Linked DNA regions of Homo sapiens: region 2 is linked to region 1. The links are contacts of gene promoters, found by promoter capture Hi-C in blood cells and fetal thymus (Javierre and others, 2016). All regions are on one chromosome and are shown on one strand. The core of a region is centred on a gene start or on the middle of the fragment in contact, and the rest is flanking DNA. Distances in the headings are between cores, read along the strand shown.

Region 1 (6,443 bases), core at 3,852-6,351:
CACCATGTTGGCCAGGCTGGTCTCGAACTCCTGACCTCAAGTGATCTGCCTGCCTCAGCCTCCCAAAGTGCTGGGATTACAGCTGTGAGCCACCGTGCCTGGCCAGGGAGCCTTTCTTGGTATCTTTGGGGCTACAGTAAAAAATGGTGGACTCATGAGATGATAACGCTTTCATGATAGCCCAGCTAACCATGCACAGGTGCCGTTCCAAGCACTTTACATACATTAATCCTCAAAGCCAACCTCATGCAGCAGGTACTAATTATTATCCTGATTTTAGAGGTGAGGAAAAGGAGGCACGGAAGCATTAAGTAACTGGCCCGAGGTCACAGGTGGTAGGTGACGGAGTCAGATCAGGGTGCAGCTGCCTGGCTTCTGAGGCTACACAGGTGACAGCTGGTTTTAAGCTGAACTAGAGCTTCCTGATTGATTCACAGACCAGGGTGGAGGTGGGGGAAGAATCCCAGGTCTTAATCTGGACAGCCCTCCCCTCACCGAGAAGTGGGTACCTGACCCCAGCTGGGTCAATCACGAGCTCTCTGAGGATCCTGATTTGCTGGGCTGCTCCCGGGATGAGTGAGTAGCACTGCTTCCTGCCCTTCCCTGGTGTGACAGTGTTGCTGTCTTTCCAATCCGTCATCCCAGAGCTTCTTGGTCCCTTTTGGCCATCCATGGTTTCTGTTGTTTGCAACCAGAGAACCCTGCTTGAGGTAGAATCTACATTACCACCAGGGTGCGGTGGCTCACGCCTGTAATCCCAGCACTTTGGGAGGCTGAGGTGGGTGGATCACCTGATGTCTGGAGTTTGAGACCAGCCTGGCCAACATGGTGAAACCCCATCTCTACTAAAAGTACAAAAATTAGCCAGGTGTGGTGGTGGGTGCCTGTAATCCCAGCTACTTGGGAGGCTGAGGCAGGAGAATCTCTTGAACCCAGGGGGCGGAGGTTGCAGTGAGCCGAGATTGCACCATTGCACTCCAACTTGGGCAACAAGAGCAAAACTCTGTCTCAAAAAAAAAAAAAAAAAAGAATCTAAATTACTTTCCTCCCCACCCGGACCTTTCCTAAGGGACTGTACCCTCCCTGACCCCATGGTTAGCCCATGACTCTGATGGATGGAGGCAAAAAAGATAATCACTGGAGGTCTCTAGTGATAGACCAAAGGGCTCTGTTTTTTGTTTGTTTGTTTGCTTTTGAGATGGAATTTCGCTCTCATCATCCAGGCTGGAGTGCAGTGGCGCCATCTCAGCTCACTGCAACCTCTGCCTCCCAGGTTCAAGCAATTCTCCTGCCTCAGCCTCCCGAGTAGCTGGGATGACAGGCACATGCCACCATGCCCGGCTAAGTTTTGTATTTTTAGTACAGACAGGGTTTCACCATGTTGGCCAGGCTGGTCTCGAACTCCTGACCTCAGGTGATGTACCCGCCTCGGCCTCCCAAAGTTCTGGGATTACAGGCGTGAGCCACCACGCTCGGCCGTGGCTCTGTTCTTACCCCTGTCATGTTGATCATTTCCCCAATCTGGACCAGAACACAGGCCCGCTCATAAAATTTGCAGCTGCCACAGCAGCAGAATTAATGCTTTGTGCAATAGAAGTGGGACTTTTAAAATGCTTTCAAGACTAGACGGCTGGATGGGGGCCAAGAAGATGACCTTTAACCAGCATAATGTAAGGTCTTGCGTGCGTTTCCGAAGAACTCATTGTGTGAGTACCAGACAGGGGAGGGAGGGCTGGCTGGACAGCAGTTCATGGGAAAAAGCTCTCGTGCATTTGCAGTGAATAACATAGCTCTTGGAAACATAAATGCCTCTAGTAATGCAGACTGCATTACTAGAGATGGAGTGTCTAGGAAACTGGAGATGACAGTACCTTTCAGCTTGGTGGTTGTCAGTCCAAACAGTGAGCATGGTTCTAGTTCTGGTCCACACACTTTTTAAGAGGGATAATGACAGGCCAGGTGCGGTGGCTCACGCCTGTAATCCCAGCACTTTGGGAGGCCAAGGCAGGCGGATCACGTGTCCGGCTAAATTTTGTATTTTTAGTAGACAGGGTTTCACCATGTTGGCCAGGCTGGTCTCGAACTCCTGACCTCGTGATCTGCCTGCCTCGGCCTCCCAAAGTGCTGGGATTACAGGGGTGAGCCACTGCATCTGGCTGGGAACAGGTATGTTTTAAAACCTGGAGGGCAGGCACGGCGCGGTGGCTCATGCCTATAATCCCAGCACTTTGGGAGGCCGAGGTGGGTGGATCACGAGGTCAGGAGTTTGAGACCAGCCTGGCCAACATGGTGAAACCCCATCTCTACTAAAAATACAAAAATTAGCTGGGCATGGTGGCAGGTGCCTGTAATCCCAGCTACTCGGGAGGCTGAGGCAGGAGAATTGCCTAAACCCAGGAAGCAGAGGTTGCAGTGAGCCCAGATCGCGCCACTGCACTCCAGCCAGCCCGGGAGACAGAGACTCCATCTTAGAAAAAAAAAAAACCTAGAGGGCAGGAGGAGCAGCTCAGGTATTGGAGCTGGGAGCTGGAACCTCGAAGAAACCAGGGCAATTAGGCTCTCCAACTCCCTCTCCTACTTCCTCTCTTGCCACAAAACAACATTCTCTGCTTCTTGGGGCACCGGTCAGGAAATGCTGGCTCCCCACTAAACTGTTCCAGACTTGGGGTAGGACTGCAGGTAGGGTATAAGAAATGGGGCAGGGCAAGGAAGCCAGGAAGAGTAAGGACAGGCAGGCAGGGGCCAGACAGGCGGGGCCGATTCTTTAAGAACAATTCAACAGATACCTGGGGCCCCTGCCCAGCTTAGAGCTGGAATGTGGCTCCTCAAAACCCCAAGGGTCCTGCCTTTTCTAGTCCCTCCCTTCCTCTCCTGAGAGTTGACCACTCTGGAGATTTGGGGGTTTTGCTTGCTTTTCTTATCCAAATAAATAGAGGGTTCTTTTTTGCCTGCCTTGATTGTTTTCTTTCTTTCTTTCTTTTTTTTTGCTGAACAGATGTTTGTGAGGTTTGTTGTCGTTGTTGTTTTGTTTTTAGTAGAGATGGGGTTTCACCATCTTGCCCAAGCTGGTCTTGAACTCCTGGCCTCAAATGATCTGCCTGCTTTGGTCTCCCAAAGAGCTAGGATTGCTGGCATGAAACACCATGCCTGGCCCTGTGGGGTGTTTTAAGGTTGACATGCGTAGCTGAGGAGAGGCAAGGCTGGTCCAGGACCTCCAGTCCCCTTCAGGGAATGGAGTGACAGTGAGAAAAGCCAGCGCGGCATCCATCCTGGACATCTTGGTAGAGCCCTCTCCCTGGACAGCCTGGCCAAATACAGGAGAGAAGGCGGCAGGCTCCCTGAGGAGAAGGAAGAGATAGTCAGTGGTGGAAAACTGGCAGAAACTTCTCCACCACTTCATCCGCGGAGATGATCCTCCGGACCCTGGCATTCACGTTGGTGGTTCCACCTACAGATGCCTGAGCCAAGCCCACGGGTTTCGACCCCAGCTCCACCCCTTCGGCCAAGCAGTCACTGGGCCTGGTGGACAAGGTCTACCCTGAGGGTTCTGGGAGTGAAGGGCTGGGCTGGGGAAGGTGGCTCTGGGCCCTCTGGATAGAGCAGGAGCAACCAAGTGGCTAGACAATGTGCCCAGGGCCGGGGCATGGGTTGGGGGGGTGCCTGAGCAGGAGAGCCAGAGGGCCAGGGAATAGTAGCTCTGGGGAGCTGTGTCTGGGAGCCACATCTGGGTGTGGGGGGACAGCTTTATAGGCCCAGCTCAGAAGGGTCCCACAGTGACCTAGGCCCTCTGGGATCTGGGATGGAGTGGGACTGCCTCAAAGCTGTCATTGTCGCTCCCTCACCCGCCTGACTGTCTGGGACTTAAAATAGCAGGAGCACAGCGGATCTCCTGAGAAGTTTCTGGCAAAGAGGTTTAGGGGGGGAGGGTGTGAGTCGCCGCTGGGAACTCTTGAGTTTGAAGCTCCCAAAGCCCAGCTGCTCCACCCCTGCCCCCAGGGAGCCTAGAATCCATGGGCGGGGCAGGTGGGGGGTCCTCTGTTCCCTCCCTGTCCTGCTGTGGGAGTGGGGAGACTGGGTCCTGCCCCAGCTCTGCCATGGAAGCACCGGCTAGATGGCTGGGCCAAGTCCTGCCCCCTTCGGACCTCAGTTTCCCAGATGTACCAGGAGTTGCGGACCTCAACATCTGCTGAGAGGTCCCTGGAGTTCATGGCAGGTGGTCCCAGTACAGACACCCAGAGTCAGACAGCCATGGGCTGAAATCCCAGTTCCACTCCTACTGGCTGAGTGGCTCTGAGCAAGTCCTCCCAGCTCTCCGGGTGAGTTTCTTCACCTGTAAATTAACAATGAAACCAAGTCCTGCTCGTTCCAAGCTTCAGATTGCGCTATCCGGTAAGGATCCTGGCAGCTCCTGGGCAACTGCCCCCCAGCCCCAGCCTCCACCCCATCCTCAGATGGCACATTTTGTGCTGCCAGGAATGTTAACAGCAACGTGACCCCACTTTTAATGCCATGTACTTTACACACACTACCTCTGGCTTCCACGCCCTGGAGGACAGAGCTGGCTACTGTCCCCAGCGCTCTCCTGGGACATCCTTAACCTCAGTACTGGCCACTCCTGGACGGAAGGGGTATTGGCTCCTGAGGGGGCCCTCTTGGGCATCTACCGTGTGCCAGGCCCTGTGCTTGGCTCACCCCTGGAGTCCTGTGGGGCAGGGCTGATGCTCCCGGTTGTGCAGATGGGGAGACAGGCTCGTTGCTCCCCTGTATCAAAGAGGTGCAGGGACCCCTTGCAGTTCGCAGTCCGCAGGGCGCGGGGCCGGGCTCTGGGCCGCGCGGTGCGTGTGGCTGGCGCGCCCTCTAGTGGCCGCTCTGCCTGCCGTGTTGCCCCGCGCGAGAGCTGCCCTAGAGTGGACGCGCAGCCGCTGGCGCGGGAAGTCCCTTCTCCCAGCCCGCCGCGGTCCCGCCTGCTGCGGCTCCACCTCCGCCGAACTGCAAGCGGTCTGGCCTGCCTGTCAGTCCTCGTGGCTTCGCAGGGACCCCACCATGGCCGCACGCCCCGCCCCGATTACCATGGAGACCGCCTGTACACAGTTTCCTCTTTCCTCTGCCCAGTCCTGGGGTCCCGCGGCCGCCTAGGAGGGAGCCCGCCGGGGCGGGGCGGGGCCGGGTGCCCATGAACAGCGGGGTCCCGGCCACGCTGGCCGTGCGGAGAGTGAAATTCTTCGGCCAGCACGGCGGGGAGGTGAGGTCCAGCGGGCTCTGCCCAGACTCCCGGCTTTGGATGCAGAGTGGTTCCTGGTTCTGTGTAGTGGGGGTTCCAGAATGTTCTCTGGGCAGTGGCTCAGGACATTGAGTCCAGAGTAGACTTTGCTAACCCAAGAAGGATCGAAGTAGGTTCTCAGCTCCAGTGCCGGGCCCCAGCTCCAGAGCAGCTCTAGGTTCTAAGCTCTGCCTGTAAAAAGAGCCCCGGGCTCTGGGCTCTGCCTCGAGAGGGGCACAAAGCTCCCTGCTGACTCTGGTGTTTTCTGGGGCCCTGGCTCTAAAGTGAACTCAGAACTTAGAGTAGATTCTGGACTCTCCGTTGTCAGCTGCGGCTCTGGAATGGGCTCTTAGCTCTGGGGTTCCAGGCTCTGGTTCCAGAGAAGGCTCTTGCCTCCAACTGCAGGCTCTGGCTTTACGGGACTCGAGAGAGGGCCCAGTGGGTCCCGGGTTCTGGGCTCTGGTGGTGGAGTGAGGCTTGAAGTCAAGCTCCAACCCCAGGCTCTTGGGGGGCAGTGTTTAGGGGTCAGAGATGAGCGGACAGGGGTTTCTTCCCCAGAATGGGACCGCTTTTGTGCTGTTTCTAGGTCAACTCTTCTGCCTTCTCCCCTGATGGCCAGATGCTGCTCACAGGCTCAGAAGATGGCTGCGTGTATGGCTGGGAGACCCGGAGTGGGCAGCTGCTGTGGAGGCTGGGTGGCCACACAGGTGGGGCTCCCACACCTGGCCGGGAAGACCGAGGCACAAGGGTCTGGCATGCTGCAGAGCTGACTGCAGTGACCTCCGATGAGCTGGGCACGGGTGCAAGGCAGGGCTGGGCAGGTTGGGAGATGGGACGAGATATCTGGGTGCTGGGGCTTAGACTCTAACAGGCCTGGACTCAGCCTTCTTTAAAAACACACACACACACACACATACATACAAAAACAACTGTAATGTAACACAGTAATACTTACTGTTGCATCCTTTTTTGTGTGTGACAGAGTCGCTCTCTGTCACCCAGGCTGGACAACCTCGGCTCACTGCAACCCCCGCCTCCTGGGTTCAAGCAATTCTCTGCCTCAGCCTCTCGAGTAGCTGGAATTATAGACACCTGCTACCACACCCAGCTAATTTTTTTGTATCTTTAGTAGAGACGGGGTTTCACCATCTTGGCCAGGCTGGTCTTGAACTCCTGACCTCGT
Region 2 (6,336 bases), core at 234-2,733, 430 kb before region 1:
AGACCATCTATCTTAGCATGTAGAAGCTTCTTATAAATAGTTATTATTAATAATACATTCATTTCATCCTGTCAACAAACCTAAGAGATAATTATGTAATTCAACTCATTTTACTGAGGGAATTGAAGGCTCCTTTTACAGCCTGAATGACTGTGGAATGAATTAATTTATTCACTCAACAAATATTTATTGAGCTCCCATTATGCGTCAGACATGGTTCTAGGTGCAAATGAATGAATGAAGCACCTAGAACCAGTGTCTATCACAACTGTGTGTTTAATAAACATTTGTCAAAGGTTGAATTCCCTTTCGTTACCTCTGAGTTTTCCGTTGAAATTAGGGAAATAAATTCATATTCTGCAGTTCTAGCCCCTAGTAACTCAGTAGCTGACCTTACTTGGAAGTATTCCAAATGAATTGAATTTGATTTGATATTACAGAGGTAATCAAGTTAAAAATGAGGTCACTAGGCCCTAATCCAACAGGACTGGCGTCCTTATAAAAATTGGAAATTTGGGTCGGGCATGGTGTCTCACACCTGTAATCCCAACACTTTGGGAGGCCAAGGCAGGTGGATCACTTGAGATCAGGCGTTCAAGACCAGCCTAGCCAACATGGTGAAACCACGTCTCTACTAAAAATACAAAAATTAGCTGGGCATTGTGGTGGGCGCCTGTAATCCCAGCTACTCAAGAGGCTGAGGCAGGGGAATCACTCGAACCTGGGAGGAGGAGGTTGCAGTGAGCCAAAATCATGCCACTGCACTCCAACCTGGGCAACAGAGAAAGACTCTGTCTAAAAAAAAAAAAAAAAATTGGCAATTTGGAGACAGACATGCACACAGGGAGAACCCCATATGAAGATGAAGGTAGACACTGGAGTGATGATCCTATGGGCCAAGGAATGCCAAAAGTTGCCATCAAACCACCAGAAGCTAGGCGCCAGGTCTGGAACAGTCTGCCTCACGGCTCTCAGAAGAAGCAACTTTGCAGACACCTTGCTTTGGACTTGCACCCTCCAGAATGGTGAGACAATAAATTTCTGGTGTTTCAGCCACCCAGATTGTGGTACTTTGTTATAACAGAGCTAGGAAACTCAGACACCTCCTGAGCTCACAGTCCAGGGGAGGAGAGGAAGTCTCAGAAAAGAAAGACTCCCAGCGCTGTGTGCCAACTGCCAGGCGGGGGAAGCATGGGAATGCGAGTGGGGGGCACACACTCTAGGGAAGCCTAGAGGCTCAGACGGTGTGGAGCCCATCGGGACGACAAGGCAAGAGGGTCAGGCACGTGGGCGAAGGCTTGAGATGTGCCAAAAACAAAACCAAACCGAAAACCCTGGACATGGTTTTTAGGAAACAGTCGTGAGGCTTCTGCAGTGGTACCTGCAGCCTCCGGGGGGTGGTGGTGGGTGCCTGAGTCCCGCCGTAGGGTCTCAGTGGGAGCTAGGAAGCCAGGGCCCAGCCAGGCGTGGTGGCTCATGCCTGTAATCCCAGCACTTTGGGAGGCCCAGGCAGGCAGATCACTCGAGGTCAGGTGTTCAAGACTAGCGTGGCCAGCATGGTGAAACCCCGTCTCTACTAAAAATACAAAAGTTAGCTGGGTGTGGTGGCGCCCGCTTGTAATCTCAGCTACTTGGGAGGCTGAGGTGGGAGGATTGCTTGAACCTGGGAGGCGGAGGTTGCAGTGAGCTGAGATCACACCACTGCACTCCAGCCTGGGCAACAAAGCCAGAGTCTGTTTCAAAAAAAAAAAAAAAGAGAAGCCAGGGCCCCGGGCACAGCACAGAGAGCTAGGAAAGCCGTTGTAGAAATGATCTGTGACCTCGATTTGCTTGAGGGAACTTTCTCTTCCTACCTGGGTTTCTTTGGTATCTTTGATTTTTCACACCCAGACTGGGCTGAGGAGGGGACATTGTTTCCTCTTACAGCCTCTGGAGGTGGCCCCGCAGAGGCACTCAGAGCCCAGCAGAGGGCGACCAAGAGCCTCCAGGCGGCCTGGACATAAAGCAAGGGAGTCAGCCGGGCGGGGATGGGGGCAGCCGGGCAGGGATGGGGGCAGCCTCTGCACCTCCAGGCATGTGGAGGGCAACCCTAGATCCCTAGCACTCAGAGATCCCCACTCGGCCTCCCTGCCCAGCATGGCTGCTGCCCCCTGGGACTGCAGCCCAGCCCAGCTGGCCCTCCCCTGGGCCTGGACACAGTCCCACTTCATCCCTGGCAGTGCTACCAACCCCAACTCACCAGTGAAGCCACCACTTCTGCTGTGGATTTGGCTGGGTGACCTCAGGAGAGCCATCAGGCTCTCTGTGCCTCAGTTCCCAAATAACACAGTAACAACCAACAGTCCCTGAGAGCACTCAACATCCTGGGCTTGGACCCAGCCATTCTGTGTGCAGGATCTCATGATCACCCTGGACACCTAGAATGTGCCAGGCAGTAGGAAAGCACAATCAAGAGACAGACACAGAGCCTGTCCTCAGGGAGCTGGCAGTCCCCAGGGACCAGGCATCATGGCCCCACTTTATAGATGAGGCAACCAAGGCCCGGAGAGGTGAAGTCACTAGCTCAAGGTCATACCGCTGATATGACTTGAGAGTCAAACCACACCCCTCCCAGCCACAGACCACACACAGCACCACTTCCCCCACCCCTGACAATAAGGGCCCAACTGGAACCCGAGTTCCAACCGGAACCCAAGTTCCCTCGTATTCTGCCAGCACACAGGTGGGGTTTCCTCCTCCAGGACTCAGGCCAGCTCAGCTACTTGCCAGCTGCAGGACCTTAGGCTGGTGTCTTGACCTCTCCGAAGTTCAGTTTCCTCATCTGTAAAATGACAGACTGTTGCAGTGCTTATCCTGCCCCACACGCATCGAATAAGAACACGCATCGTAAACTATACAACACTTCATGTATTCATTATTTATTAAACCCTTCCTTGGTGCCAAGCTTGGTGCCAACCCTGTGCTAGATGACAGCCTTGGGGGCATTGGTCTGGCGTCTAGGCCTCCAGTTCACTGTGCTAAGTGCCCTAAAGGACACGAGCCAGAGCACAGCCAGGGAAAGAGCTTCCAAGTCTGCCTGAGGCTGCAGGTGGGCACCCAGAGGACAAGAGTTAGCATCAAGACCAGGGGACGAGGGTGCATCTCATGCTGCCGAGAGCTCAGCTGTGCGTGGCCCTGGCATCACCCTGGATTTTCCAAGAGCCCAATAAGCAGCACCCCCCACCCCACCCACCCTGCAGGCTGCCCAGGAACCCAGCATGGGACAGGCCCTCAAAGGCCCACCTGCATCCTCTGTCACGGTAAACACATCTGAGGGTGCACCCTTCAAGGAGACTTGGCCATCTTCCTCTTGCAGGGAAAGCAGCCCATGATGCTCCTGGTTGCTATGGCAACTGGGCCCTTGTTTTTCCTTCTTCATAAATAAGCTATAAATAGACAGGGCAGACCTGGGCGCCTTCCTTTGCATAAATTACAGCAGCTGCTCCAGGCTCCAGGGCCCCTGGCACAGCACCCAGGTGCCAAGCCTCGCTGCATGGGCCACAGAAACACAGCTCCCATGGGAGGGGCGCAGCACGGCACAGGGCAGCATCTCAAAGTGTGGATTCCTACCACCCATCCAGACTCTATTGGGGTGCTGAGCAGATTTTGGGGCCCACCTGAGACCTCCAGAATCCCCACCACTGTGAGCAAGGCCTGGGACGGCTGGGCCCTGAGTTTGCCAACTCCAGCTGCTGGAGAGCAGGAGGGGGCATCCCTCCCTTCTTCGTATCCAGGGGCTGTTCAAGTCACAGTGAAATCATGAGAATACTCCGCACTTCCTCAGTGGGTTCCAACAACCAAACACTCTCCCCACCTGGTTTAATCATCATGTTTAACATCTATTTACTGAATCCTTTCTCTATGCCAGGTGCTACGGTAATCACCTTCCATGCCACAACCCAATTCATTCATCAAAACACCATCTGAGGTTTCCAGCTTACAGGTAGGGGACTCTCCACTTGGAGACAGGAGTTGTAACACAAGGTCACGCAGTTGGTCAGCAAGAGAACTGGAATTTGAACCCAAGCCTGTCCTGGTTAAAGCTCATGTTCTTAATCCCAGCCTCTCCTTTTAGCATACCTGATTCTCTTAATAATTTCCGAGGGAGGGAACAGCAGGTGGGATCCTTTAAGGGGGAAGGAACAGAAAAAGGAGCTGAGACTCAGAAGGACCAGGGCCCGACCCACAGCTTCACAGGGAGGACAGTCAAGGCTGAGACTTGGGTCTGTGGAAGGCAGGCTGCAGAGAGTGGAATTACTTTCCCTAAAGAGGGGAAGATTCGGGGAGACACAATTGCCTGGAGGGCCTGGGCAGACTTCTTGGAGGAAGTGAAGCTGTAACAGAGTCTTGGAGAATGGCAGTGGAGAGAAGGAAAAAAGCATTCGAGACAGAGAGAGCAGATAAAGCATTCAAGAAAAAAGCATTCAAGACAGAGAGAGCAGATAAAGCATTCAAGAAAAAAGCATTCAAGACAGAGAGATAAAGGCTCGGAGGTGTGGTAGCGCCATCCGGCTGGCAGGATAGCAGGCAGATCAGTCCGGTTATGGGCCAGGGGCAATGTGGCCAGCTGGCCAGGCCCCAGTTAAGAAGGGCCTTGTAGAGGCCAGGCGTGGTGGCTCATGCCTGTAATCCCAGCACTTTGGGAAGCTGAGGCGGGCAGATCACCTGAGGTCAGGAGTTCAAGACCAGCCTGGCTAACATGGTGAAACCCTGTCTCTACGAAAAATACCAAAAAAATTAGCCGGGCTTGGTGGTGCACATCTGTAATCTCAGCTACTTGGGAGGCTCAGGCATGAGAATCACTTGAACCCAGGAAGTGGAGGTTGCAGTGAGCCAAGATTTCACCACTGCACTCCAGTCTGGGCGACCGAGTGACACTGTCTCAAAACAAAAAGAAGAAAATCCTTGCAGGCTGGCTCAGAAGCCTGGGCCTATCGCAAGGACATTGGGAAGCCATCAGTTTTTTTTTTTTTTTTGAGATGGAGTCTTGCTCTGTCACCCAGGCTGAAGTGCAGTAGTGGGATCTCTGCTCACTGCAGCCTCCGCCTCCAGGGTTCAAGCAACCCTCCTGCCTCAGCCTCCCAAGTAGCCAGGATTATAGGTGTGCACCACCACACCCAGCTGATTTTTGTATTTTTATAGAGATGGGGTTTCACCATGTTGGCCAGGCTGGCCTTGAACTCCTGACCTCAAGCGATCCACCCACCTTGGCCTCCCAAAGTGCTGGGATTAGAGGCGTGAGCCACCACCCCAGCCTCCATGGAATGCTTTTGAGCAGAGAATCAACATGACCTCTAGAGAAAACGGGTTTCCTGCTTGACGTGGGGGTTTGAACAGGGCTCATCACCCGGGACAAGGTATTCTGAAGGCTGCTGAACCACGGGTGCTTTCTCCATCAAATCTTGCAGGATCCATCTCTGAATGTGTCTCCCGGACCCAGACACATCCAGCCCCATTATCTTCTCCATGCTTCAGACCTGCCTCGCCCTAGGTAAATGCTGCTCCATTCATTCACTCATTCATTCACTCCTTCAGATGTTCCTTACATAAACTCCAATCCTGTGTCTGGTACCATGCGACGCACAAGAAAACAAAGACTCTGCCCTCAAGAGAAATGGATACAGAAATAAATAAGCAAGTAAAAGGATCAGAAGGTTCTGATAGAGACTGTGTGGATTACAGAGATTCCAAGGAGAGAAAAAGTCAACTCCCCCAGGGGAGGAACAGCAGCAGCAAATGCTCTGAGGAAAACAGGAGACTGTAAACAGGACGCAGAAGAGGAGCAGGGGTTGGCTAGCTGGGGTTGCAGCGAGAAGAGAGTGGGCAATTCCAGAAGGAGGGGACAGTGTGAGCAGATCCGTGGAGGCGGGAAACAGCTGGGCTTGTTGGAGAACAGAAGATGAGAGGAGTAAGAGGGCGTGGGCAGCTGGAAACCGGGCATCCCAGAGTAGGAGGCAGGGGACAGAGGCTGACACATCACAGTGTGTGAAAACCACTCCGGCAGCCCGTGGGAGGACGGATGGACAGGGAGAGAATGAAAGTGGGAGAGCAGGGGCGGTGGGGGTGCTCCGGCCACAGATCAGGGAGGAGAGGAAGGTAGCCTGAAGTAGGGTGGTGACAGTGAGAACAGCGAGAGGGAACAGTCACTGGAGATATGACAGAGGCCAGATAGACAGCACATGGTTGAAGTTTGGATGTTGAGGAGAGGTAAAAGGAGGAGTCGACGTTGTTCTCCGGGTTATCTGACTTTGGTAGCAGGAAGGTCCACGTGGGTGCCTTGGGGACACGTTGCATTGG

The links. The method cuts DNA at HindIII sites, captures the fragments that hold promoters and counts their contacts. A CHiCAGO score of 5 or more calls a contact.
Region 2: a contact is called between a fragment that was not itself captured here and the fragment with the promoter of WDR38 in region 1, in 1 of 17 cell types (neutrophils). The highest score is 8.4, in neutrophils.

What each region holds. Positions count from the first base shown.
Region 1 is chr9:124,848,359-124,854,801 of GRCh38, forward strand. WDR38 (WD repeat domain 38) reads left to right here and starts at 5,102. Exons shown (of 9, transcript NM_001045476.3): 1 at 5,102-5,242; 2 at 5,847-5,967. The coding sequence starts at 5,174. RefSeq lists a silencer at 5,154-5,203. The HindIII fragment of the contact is 17,878 bases long and covers 4,369-6,443 here.
Region 2 is chr9:124,417,767-124,424,102 of GRCh38, forward strand. No RefSeq gene overlaps it. Among named protein-coding and RNA genes, the nearest start is that of PSMB7, 5.5 kb to the left of the region's middle. The HindIII fragment of the contact is 2,918 bases long and covers 25-2,942 here.